Linked DNA regions of Homo sapiens: region 1 is linked to region 2. Evidence: promoter capture Hi-C in 16 types of primary human blood cells and fetal thymus (Javierre and others, 2016). All regions are on one chromosome and are shown on one strand. The core of a region is centred on a gene start or on the middle of the fragment in contact, and the rest is flanking DNA. Distances in the headings are between cores, read along the strand shown.

Region 1 (2,700 bases), core at 79-2,578, 2.0 Mb after region 2:
ATATACACAACGGAATATTATTCAGCTGTAAAAAAGAAATGTTGTCGTTTGTGACAACATGGATGAAACTGGAGAACACTGTCCTAAGTAAAATATGCCAGCACAGAAGGACAAACACTGCATGTTTTCTCTTACATGTGAACTCTAAAACAATGGAGCTCAAAGAAGCAGAGAGTAGAATGGTGGGTACCAGAGCCTGAAGGTGTAGGAAGAAATGATGATCAAAGGCTACAAAGCCTCAATTAGACAAGAGGAATCGTTTTTTTCTTTGAGACATATTGCACAGCATGGTGAATACAGTAATAACGTACATTTCAAATTTGCTAAGAGTAAATTTTAAATGTTTACTTACCACAAAATGATAACTATTTGAGCTGATGGATATGTTAATTAGCTTGATTTAATTATTCCACATTATACTCATAAATCATAACATCACATTATACCCCGTAAAGAAACAAATATGTCGTTACAGTTTTTTTAATTTAAAAAAAGATTATGTTACCCAATTTTAAGTCCGTGTTTTTCTATAAATATGCCAAGCATTATCTTTATAAGTAAACTCAATCATCTATATATTTTGTGTTCCTTGAAAAAAAAGGAGGCAACTTTAAATCTGTAAGATGTTTAAAATGTCTATTTTGTTTTGCTCTGCTTTTTCTTTTCTCTTTTAAAAAAAAATTACTCGGCCAGGCACAGCGGCTCACGTCTGTAATACTGGCACTTTGGGAGGCTGAGGCAGGCGGATCACCTGAGGTCAGGAGTTGGAAACCAGCCTGACCAACATGGTGAAACCCCACCTCTACTAAAAGTACAAAATTAGCGAGGCGTGGTGGCGCATGCTTATAATCCCAGCTACTTGGGAGGCTGAGGCAGGAGAATCGCTTGAGCCCAGAAGGCAGAGGTTGCAGTGAGCCAAGATCACACCATTGTGCTCCAGACTGGGCAAAGAGCAAAACTCCGTGCCAATAAATTAATTTAATTTAATTTTTAAAAATGACTTATTTAAAAAAAATTACTCGGCTGGGCACAGTGACTCAAGCCTATAATCCTAGCATTTCAGGAGGCCGAGGCCAGTGGATCTCTTAGGCTGAGTTCAATACCAGCCTGGTCAACCTGGTGACACCCCATCTCTACAAAAAATACAAAAATTAGCCAGGTGTGGTGGTGCACCCCTGTAGTCCCAGCTATTCAGGAGGCTGATGTGGGAGGGTGGCCTGAGCCTGGGAGTCTCTGCCTTTCCATCCACAAATGCTTTCAAGAAGAGAGTGGATGACAATGTACTGAGCTGTACACTGGGAAGTCTGGTTCTGGGAAGGGAAGAGACAAACCCCATTTCCTGAATGCCATCAGCAGCCACCTGTGGCAGGACTGTGTCTCCTTTGCCGGTGAAGGGACTGGGGTCCCAAGGGTTCTGTGACTTCCCTTAGGTCAGGAATCTGGTGAGAGGCAGATCTCTGGAGCCAGAGCACGTGCTCTTTCTACCCTCCTAAATGTTCCAGCCCTTAAAGTTGATGCCTGCCCTTGAGAAATTGCAAATCAGTGAAACTTTAACAGGGTAAACAGCTGAGAAGAGAGGGAAAACTTAACTCTAGGCTAAATCTCTTTTACGTAATTAAATCAGCCCATCTTGGTGCAGAGTTTTTCAGAGGCTGTATGCTTGAAACTATCTACAAAGGGAAATGCAATTAAGGAGACTTTTTAATATATCTGATTCTTGACTGCCCTTGCTCTAGGCAAGAGCTTAATTCTACTTAACAATAGCTATCTTGCAAAAGTTATGTAAATTGCAAGGTATGGGGAGAAAAGAAACAGGAATCCTTTCACCGGAGGCAAATGAGAAGCCCACTGAGAAGGGAGCACTGCGGTAAGACGGCTCCAATTCACACAATGACCATCTCAGCTCATTTGCCACCTACAGCTGTGCCCTGTAGACCACATGCAACTCCACCTCCTTATCATTCATTGTACTCCCTTTCCTAAATTAACCAAAACAGGAAACTCTTTTCAGAAATTAGCTGACCATGAGTTGACAGTAACACATTTTAAAATATGATCTTTTCTCATTTGGTACAGCTGGAAATTGAAGGAAACTTCAACATATGTCCAGGGTTCTTTTTTAAAACTCTTGGGTAAATTCCAGAAGTGGAGAAGTGGGCAACTCATTCTCTCTATATAAGCAACAACGTGGGAGGAGGAAGGCACCAATCGAAAAGATATTTCACGTTTATCAAAATGGAGTCACTCATGTCAAACTCTAACAAAATGGAGCCAGAGGATAGGAAGGAAGGGCCCTCATGCAAGTATGCCTATGACAGGAACTATGCCAGGAATTCCTTAGAGCCTGTTACTTGCACAGGACACTTGCCTGGTGCACCTGTCTCCAATGGACTAATGCCAGCTCCTGCAATAAACCTCTGAAACCAATGGTCTTTGTTTCAAAACCGCTTAGGTGGACTTCCCTTTTGGGTCTTTAAAAGTTTCCATTTGCCCCAACTTCTTTGGACGTACCTATGATCCAGCATAGCGCATGTATCTAAATTGCAATCCCCTATTATTCCCAAATAAACTACAGTTTCAGGATCCCATATCCAAAATGCTTGGGACCAGAAGTTTTAGAATTCCAGATGTTTTTGGATTTTGGAATATTTGCATATACATAGTGAGATAACCTGAGGATGGGACCCAAGTCTAAACATG
Region 2 (2,700 bases), core at 50-2,549:
CTAGGGTGAGACCAGGGGATGGGGAGACAGCCCTGAGAAGAGAGGAAGAAATATCAGTAGCTGATTTAGGAAAGGAGTTTCAACATTTACAAATCACTCCCCCCCGACCCCCACCTCTCCCACTTGCAGGCTGTCAGGTCTTCCAGGGCAGAAAGCCCATCATCTGGAGCAGTCTCTTGATTTAAAAAAAGTTAATTATGACATTTTTACAATGATAAGTGATCAATTAGGTAGAGCTGTACAAAACTGCCATATGGGGAGCTCAAAAACGTTGTCGATATCAAAATGGTTCATACAATATAAATAACTTACCCGCATCACCTTGCAGTTTGTTAGTATATTCTTAAAGAAACACGTTTACTACCGGGCGCAGTGGCTCACGCCTGTAATCGCAGCACTTTGAGAGGCCGAGGCGGGCGGATCACCTGAGGTCAGGAGTTCGAGACCAGCCTGGCCAACATGGCAAAACCCCGTCTCTACTAAGAATACAAAAATTAGCCTGGCGTGGTGGTGCACGCTGTAATCCCAGCTACTCAGGTGGCTGAGGCAGGAGAATTGCTTGAACCCGGGAGGCGGAGGCTGCAGTGGGCCGAGATCGCGCCGCTGCACTCCAGCCTGGGCGACAGAGCAAAACTCTTGTCTCAAACAAACAAACAAAAACACGTTTATAACACTTACTGTGTCTAAAACAGTAGTATGATTGCCATTATTTTGGAGATGAAGAAGCTGAGGCCCAAGGGGTGAAGTCACTCGCTCAAAGTCACAGGAAGAGGGAGGACTTCAACCCTGGCTCCAGAGTCGGAACCCTCCACCATTAGGCTACACTGCCTTCCGGAATGAGTCCGAAGATTGCGGCTTGGAGACAGTGACTGGCCCACGTTCACAGCCAGTAAGGAGCCACTTGGCCGGAACGTGGTGTGTCTGGCGCCAAAACCCCTGCACGTTCCCCGACCCCTTTCCTGGAGTCCAGTGCCTTTCTGCCTCTTCCTCCCCTTCCCACGGCCCCGCCCATTTTACAGATTAGGAACCTGAGCTGGAAAAGGCCAGGCTGTCCGGCCAGTCTGCAGAGGACCTGGTGCAGCCGGGGCTGCGGTGCGGAGGGCCGGGTGGGGTTAGGGTCCGCCCAGGCGCGGGGGAACCGACAGCGCAGGGCGGGAGCGGGCGGCGAGGATCCCACGAGACCCGGGACTACTTCCACAAGGGGAACGATCGAGGACGGAAGGTGGAGGGGGGCTTACTCCAGCCCATGGCGCCTCTCCAGTTCGCTGACCCCGCAAGCCGGACCCGGACCTCGAATGACGCTTTTCACCCTTCACCCCTGCTCCTCAGCGCGTCCCCGTCGGAATTCAGGAGCCATGGCAACGGGGACTCTACGGCGGCCGCGCGGGACCAAAACAAGCCGCGTTTCCTGAGCTCCGCGGAGCAAGCAGAGGAGACCGCAGTGAAGGGGCTCAGCAGACAGGGGTTCCCCAACCCAAACCCAGTCTTCGTCCTCGTCGCACTTCCGACTTGCCACAGACTGCTTCCCTCTCCCTGAATCAATGGTTTAGAGTGAACAAAGTATGAGGACGCTTCTCTTTTCTGTGCCTTCCAGGCTTGCCTTCCAGACCGCCTTTGACTTTTTCCTTTTTGTGTTTGATTTACAGCTTCCAGAGCCAACAGATCTGGATTTGGCCCCCAACTCTACCAGCGGCGTGACCTTACACTTCCTTCTCCTCAGTTTGCACATCTGTAAGATGAGAAATAACCTAAGAGGATCACTGTGAAGCTTTAATTAGATAATTTGAGTGAATGAAAGACACTATGAAAACAACAGGCTCACTATAAAGATTCGTTGTCGTTGTCATATTCCAGCTTTTTAAAGTCACTCTCCAACACTCGTTTCCGGCTAACAAGCTTTCCAGAAACGCCACCCATTACCCCCTCCATCAATTTCCCTATTCTCCACTCTCTTAATTGTAAAATGTAGGAAGTATATCTCCTACAGCCCCACACTCCCCTCACGTTTCCCCAGACCCTTCTCCAAAAGTGTGCAACGCGCCTTCTCCCATTCTAAACTAGGAAGCACATCAGCAAGCTCATTCACCCTCAGATCTTAGTGTTAGCACTTTAATGCGTTAGCTTCCCAAGAATCTTTAAAAGGTACCATTATTATGAAAGTAATTATTATTCTTTACTCCATTTGCAGAAAAAGGAGGGGGGCAATATGTAAAAGGTAAAACCTTCTCCCATCCCAGTCGTTTTAAACAGTATGGAGTGCGTGCTTCTTATCTTGATGTGTGTATTATGTTTGCATTTTAAAAGAAGATTCCTAGAGCAATGCTGAGTGCAAAGAAATTAATTTTTCTAGCGAATAGCTGTTAAGCATTTACAGCTGGCAATTATTAGAGTTTGCCAGGTAGAGACAAGGTCATGAACTTGGACAGAGAGGCAGGAAAGTCTAACAGAGTGAGGTGATGGGGGGAAGCAGAAACATCAGTTTGGCAATAAAGAGAGCTAGATAGAAGGGATCTTCGAACAGTAAGAATGAGAGATTAGATCGGGGGTAATGGGGGCCTTAAATGCCAGGCCAAAGGAACTGAACTGGAAGAGTGGGATTTCAGGCACTATTTCCCTGAATATTTGGATTTCCAAGGAGGCCTCCCAAAAGGCACTCAAACTATAAACTTACCTGACATCCACTATTATTTTTCTGAAAGC

Evidence for each region. The method cuts DNA at HindIII sites, captures the fragments that hold promoters and counts their contacts. A CHiCAGO score of 5 or more calls a contact.
Region 1: a fragment that was not itself captured here is called in contact with the fragment with the promoter of DNAAF11 in region 2 in 1 of 17 cell types (naive CD8 T cells); the score reaches 5.5 in naive CD8 T cells.

What each region holds. Positions count from the first base shown.
Region 1 is chr8:134,707,984-134,710,683 of GRCh38, forward strand. All of the region lies in intron 1 of ZFAT (zinc finger and AT-hook domain containing), which reads right to left. Among named protein-coding and RNA genes, the nearest start is that of ZFAT, 3.7 kb to the right of the region's middle. RefSeq lists an enhancer at 1,445-2,128. The HindIII fragment of the contact is 6,003 bases long and covers 1-2,700 here.
Region 2 is chr8:132,674,246-132,676,945 of GRCh38, forward strand. It overlaps DNAAF11 (dynein axonemal assembly factor 11), which reads right to left and starts at 1,300. Exons shown (of 12, transcript NM_012472.6): 1 at 1,239-1,300. The coding sequence starts at 1,248. It overlaps LOC105375767 (a long non-coding RNA gene), which reads left to right and starts at 1,385. Exons shown (of 2, transcript XR_928665.4): 1 at 1,385-1,560; 2 at 1,647-1,813. The HindIII fragment of the contact is 7,589 bases long and covers 1-1,766 here.